Linked DNA regions of Homo sapiens: region 1 is linked to region 2. The links are contacts of gene promoters, found by promoter capture Hi-C in human tissues and cell types (Jung and others, 2019). All regions are on one chromosome and are shown on one strand. The core of a region is centred on a gene start or on the middle of the fragment in contact, and the rest is flanking DNA. Distances in the headings are between cores, read along the strand shown. Region 1 has its middle 37 kb from the start of NORAD. Region 2 holds the start of CEP250 (centrosomal protein 250).

Region 1 (4,354 bases), core at 1,847-4,346, 630 kb before region 2:
CCAGAGCAGTCCCACAGAACTTTCCATGATGATGGAAATGTCCTGAATCTTTGCTGTCTGATACAGTGGCTACTAGCCCTCTGTGGCTATTGAGCACTTGAAGCGTGGCTAGTCCAACTGAGGAAATGCAAAATAATAATTGTATTTAATTTTAAGTACTTTAAATTTGAATGGCCACAATGGCTGCCATATTGGACAGTGCCCTTCCAAATGAGCAAGTGCCCCAAATACAGTGTAGAAAGAATCTCAATCAACAGTAATTACAGTGAAAGTGACTTAAAGGTTTTAGTTGACCTCAAGCTCAACAATGCAACGTGCTGCCAAAAAGAAAGAAAGGAAGGGAGAAAAGGAGTAAAGAAGAGAGAGAGGGAGGGAGGGAGGGAGGAGGGAACAAAGAGAAGGAGGAAGGAGAAAGCGAAGAAAGGAAGGAGGAGAAAGTGAATATGAATATTCTATCAACGGAAACCAGAGTTGAGGCCAGGCGCAGTGTCTCATGCCTGTAATCCAAGCACTTTGGGAGGCCGAGGCAGGCGGGCAGATCACCTGAGGTCAGGAGTTTGAGATCAGCATGGCCAACATGGTGAAACCCTGTCTCTACTAAAAATACAAAATTGACCGGGCACAGTGGCTCACACCTGTAATCCCAGCACTTTGGGAGGCCGAGGCAGGCGGATCACGAGGTCAGGACTTCGAGACCAATCTGGCCAATATGGTGAATCCCTGTCTCTACTAAAGATACAAAAAAAAAAAAAAAAAAAATAGCCAGTTGTGGTGGCACGTGCCTTTAATCCCAGCTACTCAGGAGGCTGAGGCAGGAGAACTGGTTGAACCCAGGAGGTGGAGGTTGCAGTGAGCCGAGATCGTGCCATTGCATTCCAGCCTGGGCAACAGGGTGAGACTCTGTCTCAAAAAAAAAAAATACAAAATTAGCCAGGCGTGGTGGCGCACTCCTGTAATCCCAGCTACTCGGGCGGCTGAGGCAGGAGAATCCCTTGAATCCAGGAGGCGGAGGTTGCAGTGAGCCAAAATCACACCACGGCACTCCAGCATGGACAACAAGAGTGAGACCCCGTCTCAAAAAAAAAAAAAAAAAAGTTGGGCCAGCTCTGCCCTAGATGGATCACAGCTGGACCACCAAGCTCATTTGTGAGCCCCATATTCTTAGGGGGACTGGAGCATGTCTACAGGAGACCGGAACGTAGAGGACCTGGACGCCATGCTGTATGATGAATGATTTAAATAGCTTGGAGAAGGGAAAGCACAGAGTAGACATGGTGACTATCTCCACACCTCTGAAGGACTATCATACAGAAAGAGGATTTGCTTTGTTTCCTTTCGTTTAGGTCTAATCAACAAAACAAAAAATTCTGCATTAGCAAACTCCTAGGCCACCCTCTCTGAGGGAAGGATCCATATCAAATTTATATGCTGTTCTCCTCAGCACCTAGTCCATCCAGGACCTGGTTCCTATGAAACAATGACTACAGATTTGCTGCCAGAATGGATACGAAAGAATTCCATTGGCCAGGTGCTGTGGCTCACGCCTGTAATCCCAACACTTTGGAAGGTCGAGCAGGTGGATCACCTGAGGTCAGGAGTTCGAGACCAGCCTCGCCAACATGGTGAAACCCCGTCTCTACTAAAATACAAAATTAGCTGGGCGTGGTGGCACATGCCTGTAATCCCAACTATTTGGGAGGCTGAATGTCTTGAATCTGGGAGGTGGAGGTTGCAGTGAGCCAAGATCACACCACTGCGCTCCAGCCTAGGCAGCAAGAGTGAAACTCTGTCTAAAAAAAAAAAAAAACAAAAAGGGGCCAAGTGTGATGGCTCACACCTGTAATCCCAGCACTTTGGGAGGCCGAGGCAGGCAGATCACCTGAGGCCAGGAGTTTGAGACCAACCTGGCCAGCATGGTGAAACCCTGTCTCTACTAACAACACAAAAAAATTAGCCAGGCTTGGTGGCTCATGCCTGTAAGTCCCAGCTACTCGGGAGGCTGAGACATGAGAATTGCTGAACCTGGGAGGCGGAGGTTGCAGTGAGCTGAGATTGTACCACTGCACTCTAGCCTGGGCAACACAGTGAGACTCGGTCTCAAAAAAAAAAAAAAAAAAAAGAGAATTCCATCACATCACCTCCAGTGGGGGGATATCCAGGAAGACAATTTCAGCTCACTATAAAGAACTCCCTAACAGTTGGAGCTACCCAAGAATGGAATGGACCACCTTGGGAGTGATGAACTCCTTGTCAATATATGTATTCAAGGAAAGATTAAGTCTTCATTGGGAAATTGAACTAGGATCCTGGTGACCTCTCAAGTTGAAAAAATGGGCAAGTTCTATTAGGAAGGGAAAGACAAGATCAAAGCTGTGCTTCCAGACAATTATGTGACTGTATGTGTAGAAGAAATGGGTGGGGAGGGATCAGAGGCAGGCAGGACCAGTAGGAAACCACTGCAGTGGTCCAGGAGATAAAAGAATAGACTGGGGCTGGGCACGGTGATTCATGCCTGTAATCCCAGCACTTTGGGAGGCCGAGGAGGGTGGATCACAAGGTCAGGAGTTCAAGACCAGCCTGGCAAACATGGTGAAACCCTGTCTCTACTAAAAATACAAAAAAATTAGCCAGGCATGGTGGTGGGTGCCTGTAATCCCAGCCACTTGGGAGGCTGAGGCAGAGAATTGCTTGAACCCGGGAGGCGGAGGTTGCAGTGAGCCGAGATCACACCACTGCACTCCAGCCTGGGCGACAGAGCGAAACTCGTCTCAAAACAAAACAAAACAAAACAAAAAACAAAAAAAAAGAATAGACTGGGAGGCCATGGGAATGGAAAGCCAATGCAAGTGTGACTTGAAAGAGGCACTGGCACTAGGCTGGTAGTCAGGAGCTGCAGGTTCTAGTCCTGCCCCTGCCATTAACTTATTGTGTAGTCTCAGGTAAATCCCAGCCCTTGAGTAGATCCCTTCCTTTATTCAAATTTCAGAGATCCCATCTGTAAAATGCAGAATGATCTGCAATATCCTTCCTAACTCTGGATTCTGTGAATGGGAGAGAGATAATGAAGGATAACTGGGATGATGTATTAGAAAGCCTTCATACACTTCAAAGTAATAATATCATTAGTACAAGTACCATTGTTATTATTATTTCAAAGGCAGCCTCACCAGAACGTGGTGACTGGACTGGTAGGAGGGGACAGGACAGAGTCAAGTGGCCTGCATCTGTGGGTGGACAAGACACCAGGATCTCTGATCTTTTGGGAAGGTCAGCTAACCACTGTATCCCTCCCCCAAGATCTGTGAAGACAAACAGTATTCTGTGCCCTGTCACCTCATTAACTGCTTCCTCATTCCTTTGAGCCACACCTTATACTTGGCTAAAAGAAGCAACCAATTCTAAGAAAAGTTAGCCTCTGTACTCCCTCCTTTCAATGTTCAAAAATGGGTCCTCGTCTGGGACTTTCCCTATATAATAATAAGTTTCATCATCTCATATAGGAATAGCCAACATTATTGAGTACTTAGTATATGTTAGGAAATTTATTTACATAATTTTCTCACCCTGGGAGGTAGCTGTAATGGCTTATGAAGATCTATAACTTTCTCAGTCACATAGCTTATGAGAAGGATTCCAGTACAAGTCTGTGCGATTTCAAGGCTGCATTCTTAAAGATTTTTTTTTTTTTTTTTTTTTGAAATGGAGTCTTGCTCCATCACCCTGGCTGGAGTGCAGTAGCACTATCTTTGCCCACTGCAACCTCCATCTCCCGGGTTCAAGCGATTCTCATGTCTCAGCCTCCCAAGTAGCTGGGATTACAGGTGCCTGCCACCATGCCTGGCTAATTTTTGTATTTTTAGTAGAGATGGGGTTTCACCATGTTGGCCAGGCTGGTCTCGAACTCTTAACCTCAGGTGATCTGCCTGCCTCAGCCTCCCAAAGTGCTGAGATTACAGCCGTGAGCCACCCTGCCCGGCACCCTAAAGATTTTTACTATGTCTTTTTGTAGCAACTTAGGGAGGAGGGCAAGATCAGTGTTGTTGCCACTTTATAGCTGGGGAAACTGAAGCTCAGAGAAGGTAAATTCTGTCATTTGGACAAATTAGTAAAGTCTTCTATGGTGCAGTTTGGTGCTGTTTCTACTTCTCAGAGCTTCCTCCTCTGCACCTTCCAGGACCTCCCCAGTCCTCCTAGGAGTGATGAGTAGAGACTTGCCCAGACTACTTAAGGGAAGGACTTACACTTGTCCTTCTCCTGGGGAAGGGAAAGGTTCCTGAAAGGTGAAAGTTAATTTCCACCTCCCCTCCCCACCCACCAACTCACACACCCTAAACCAGGACCTTGTGGTGACCCG
Region 2 (4,501 bases), core at 1,774-4,273:
TTTCAATGTGCCTGAGAAAGGGAAAAGAGCAGTAGCTGGCAAACTAACAAATTGGATTACATCTAAATAAGATAATGAGTGTCAGTGTACTTCTAAGCTGTAAACCACTGAGCCAATGTTATCATTACTGCAGGAAAAAGGGAAAGATTCATTTCTTTTGTACATTAATTTATCCCATAAACACTCATGAATTTCAACTCAGTATCAGGAGTCTGCCACAGTGGTACAGAAATGAACAAGACCTACCTTCCTACTTTTGCTAAGGATCAGACAGGGAAGACAGCACCCTTACTAAAGACCAACAGCCACCTGTGAACCTGGAGTGGAAAGTGACAGAAGAGTGAGATAAATTATGTATTTGATCCTCTCTCATCCAAAATACTACAAAAGGAGTATTTAAATAAAGTTTAAAAGAGAAGCAACACTACCACCTAAACTTGGAATAGAGGCATAAATGCTACAAGGACTAAGATGCAGAATGGTATTAAATAGAATTTGTCACTTAAAGCAAAAACAGAAAAATACTTGAGGACACAAACATTTTATTTACTGAGAAAGAAACTACAGTATAGACATTTGTGTACAGACATAATTTGTTTCTTACTCCTGAAAAAAACAAATTAGCATGCAGCTCCTTATTTAAATCTCATGTGGGGCCTCTCTGTTGCTCTCTTCCAACCTCTGGCCTCTCCCACTCAGTCTCCTTTGCTGCCTTTTCTCATCTCCCCAGTATCTAAAGTTTGGAAACCTCAAGGCTTCAGACCTCTTCTCCATCTCCATTAATTTCCAAGGTAATCTCATCCAGTGTTTTGTTTTGTTTTTGAGACAGGATCTGGCTCTGTTACCCAGGCTGTAGTGCACTGGCATGATCTCAGCTCACTGCAACCTCTGCCTCCCCGGTTCAGGCAATTCTCATGTCTCAGCCTCCTGAGTAGCTGGGATTACAAGCATGTGCCACCACGACCAGCTAATTTTTTTGTATTTTTAGTAGAGACAGAGTTTCACCAAGGTGGGAGGATCTCTTGAGGCCAGGAGTTCAAGACCAGCCTGGGCAACACAGGGAGATTCCCATCTCTATTAAAAAAAAAAAAATTGCTGGCTGTGTGGCATTCACCTGTAGTCCCAGCTACTTGGGAAGTTAAGGTGGGAGGGCTGCTTGAGCCAAGGAGTTCGAGGCTGCAGTGAGCTGTGATCACGCCACTGCACTCCAGCCTGGGACAAGATGCTCAAATAAATAAATAAATAAAATACTATCACCTCTCCACATAACACTAGTACTTTTATTTACCTTACCATGCTTTTTCTGTCCCTATCTAATTATTATGTAATATACTTACCAAAATGCAAATTCCACAAGTGCAAAAGCATTGTTTTATCGAATGCTGTATTCCCAGCTCCTACCTAAAACACAGCCTGGTTTATAACAAGTGCCCATTATTACTGACTATTATAGGACATTAGGTAACATGATCCATATTATCACCAATGGTCTTGCAAAATGCTAACAGCTCTATTACCTATATAAAAAGCAAAAAAACAGGCTGGGTGTGGTGGCTCACAACTGTAATCCCAGCACTTTGGGAGGCTGAGTTGGGCAGATCATTTGAGGCCAGGAGTTCGAGACCAGCTTGGCCAACATGGCAAAACCCCATCTCTCCTAGAAATACAAAAATTAGCCAGGCACGGTGGCGGGCGCCTGTAATCCCAGCTACTCAGGAGGCTGAGGCGGGAGAATCGCCTGAACCTGGGAGACAGGATGTTCCAGTGAACCCAGATCGCACCACTGCACTCCAGCCTGGGTGACTGAGACCAGGTCTCAAAAAAAAAAAAAAAAGTGGGGGGAGGCATATAACTTATAGCTTGGTCAGTGGCAGAGCAATGACTGAACCCCAATCTGATTCCAAATTCTACACTCTCTCCATTACATTAGCTGTTAAAGCATGAACATTACATTAGTTAAAGCATGGACTACGAACTCACAGCTCTGTGAGGGGCACTTCTTAAATAGTGAGCGATAATGACACCTATGTCTGCAGCTTTCTGATCGAAAAGGAGCAAAGAAAGATAGAAGAACTAAAGGAACAGAGGGCGTACCAGTAGCCTTGGTTTTGTTGTGACCTCTATAAATCTGGGACCAGTTCTCCTTTCTAAGCCTTCGCGGTAAAATACTGATCACAAGCCTAGCCTCCAATAACTCCCAGGGCCAAAGTAAAGATCAATTCAACAGACGTTGATTAAACCCAAAGGCAATCTAGTCAAGTCATCAAATGCCCTGGGGACAGTTTCCCAGCTCCATCCACTTATTAGTTGTGGGACTCCTGGCAAATTACTTTTTCTATGAATACCTCAGTTTCTTCATGGGTAAAACGTGAAGCTATAGAAAGAACTCACCCCATAGGATTGTTGGGAAGATTAAATAGGCCTTTGGCTGAGCGCGGTGGCTCACGCCTGTAATCCCAGCACTTTGGGAGGCCGAAGCGGGCGGATCACCTGAGGTCGGGAGTTCGAGATCAGCCTGACCAACATGGAGAAACCCCGTCTCTACTAAAAACATAAAATTAGCCGGGTGTGGTGGCGCATGCCTGCAATCCCAGCTACTTGGGAGGCTGAGGCAGGAGAATCGCTTGAACCCGGGAGGCGGAGGTTGAGGTGAGCCGAGATCGCGCCATTGCACTCCAGCCTGGGCAACAAGCGCGAAACTCCGTCTCTAAATAAATAAATAAATGGGCCCTTATGTGTAATGCATTCAGTAGCACCTGACAATTTGTGATCATTCCGTACAGTAAGCCATGACTATTATCATCACGTGCTAGGCCCTGGGATCTAGAGATGAAAAAGGCAAGGCATAACATCTAACGAACGAGCTTACGGTGTCAACGAGGGGCCGGGAAAGTAACTCGGTGCACAGCGAGTGCAAAAACCGAGAAGCGAATGCAGCTGCGCCTGGAGAAGGCGGCTGAGAAGCGATACTTCAGCAGGGTCCTGAAGAATGGGAGCTCCAGAGTCGGGTGGCGGGTGGGACTGGGCTTTCGGATAGATTACGTGCAAATCCGCCAGGACACAGGGAGCGAGGGGCGGGGGGGCGGCAGAGCGCGGCGCCTCACCCTCCCAGCCTGGGATTGCGGCTACTGGACACGAGGGTCGGGAAGCTCTCCTTCGGCGCCGACTGGAGCTTAGCGTGCTGGCGGCAGCAAGAAGCTGAGGCAAGCGGGCCCCGGGCCCTAACGACGCGTCCCAGCCCCTCTCTGGGCCTCGGGTTCCTCCCGGGTAACAAGAGGCCGCTGCCCGAACGGGATTCCCTCAGGCGCCCTAGACGGGCGGGTCTCCGGGCCTCGGACGGTTAACCCGAGCACCTCCCACCTGCCCCTGAGGCCCCACCTCACCACGCTCGGCTCCCGCAGACGCCCGGCTAGTTGCTCCGCGATTGAGCTGCGGCAGCCGCTGCTAAGGCCCTGCGGGGGACGGGGGCGGAGCCCACCCCGAGGCAGAGGGCCAGGCCCCGCCCCCCCAAACTCCCGCCCTTTGGGAGGGGCCCGCCCCTCCAAGTCCTGCACCTATAGGCAGACTGAGCCGGCGCAGGGCCTCCCGCCATGTTGGGTATTGGCAGCCGACTTACTAGAGAGGCCCTGAAGGAAAGGGGGTATTATTTTAAGAATTATAAGATCCCTAGCCAGAAATGGGGACGGTCAGGGTCTCTGGATTCGCGAAAGGGACATTTCGGAAGCAGAAAAGAAAAATTGCCCTCAATCATTTCGCTTTTGGCTTCAGTGTTACATACAGCGCATGTGCAAGGTCACCTGGTTCTAGGTGCGCCTGCGCACAGCTCCACCTACAAACCAGACTACAATTACAACTGCCGAGAAACAAAGGGGCTCGCTGCCACTGGTTAGCGATAATACTGGCAGCGCGACCGGTTTCTGAGGGTTGTTCACCTTGCTGCTCAGACGCTCCGAGAAGCTTCAGGCAGCATAACACTTACAGGCGAGTTACTTACTCAACACTCGGTTTTGTCTGCATGTCTCTGCACAGAGTGTTACCTTTACCTGACTTAATCCGTCCCGGAGCTGCAGTTCTGCTTAAGCCTGACTTCTAGAGAACTTTTTCTTCCCAATAGGACCCATGCGTTATTCCTGTAGCATTTTGTGTATAAATTTTTTTTTTTTTTTTTGAAATGGAGTCTTGCTCTGTCGCCAGGCTGGAGTGCATTGGCACGATCTCGGCTCACTGCAACCTCTGCCTCCCAGGTTCAAGTAATTCTCCTGCCTCAGCCTCCCGAGTAGCTGGGACTACAGGCGCCCGCCACCACGCCCGGCTAATTTTTGTATTTTTAGTAGAGACAGGATTTCACCATGTTGGCCAGGATGGTCTCGATCTCTCTTGACCTCGTGATCCTCCCGCCTCGGCCTCCCAAAGGGCTGGGATTACAGGCGTGAGCCACCGCGCCCGGCCTTGTGTATAAATTGTTAATGCACTTTCTTAGAGTTGTAAACTCCATTTACCT

Evidence for each region. Contacts are between HindIII fragments. The study calls those that stand out against the background at their distance.
Region 1: a fragment that was not itself captured here is called in contact with the fragment with the promoter of CEP250 in region 2 in 3 of the 25 tissues and cell types used here (liver, lymphoblastoid cells and spleen).

What each region holds. Positions count from the first base shown.
Region 1 is chr20:36,085,948-36,090,301 of GRCh38, reverse strand. No RefSeq gene overlaps it. Among named protein-coding and RNA genes, the nearest start is that of NORAD, 37 kb to the right of the region's middle. The HindIII fragment of the contact is 7,451 bases long and covers 1-4,354 here.
Region 2 is chr20:35,454,120-35,458,620 of GRCh38, reverse strand. It overlaps CEP250 (centrosomal protein 250), which reads right to left and starts at 3,023. Exons shown (of 35, transcript NM_007186.6): 1 at 2,870-3,023; 2 at 247-317. It also overlaps a transcript of GDF5 not described here. RefSeq lists a silencer at 3,229-3,608 and enhancers at 3,629-3,778, 4,039-4,088. The HindIII fragment of the contact is 9,261 bases long and covers 1-4,501 here.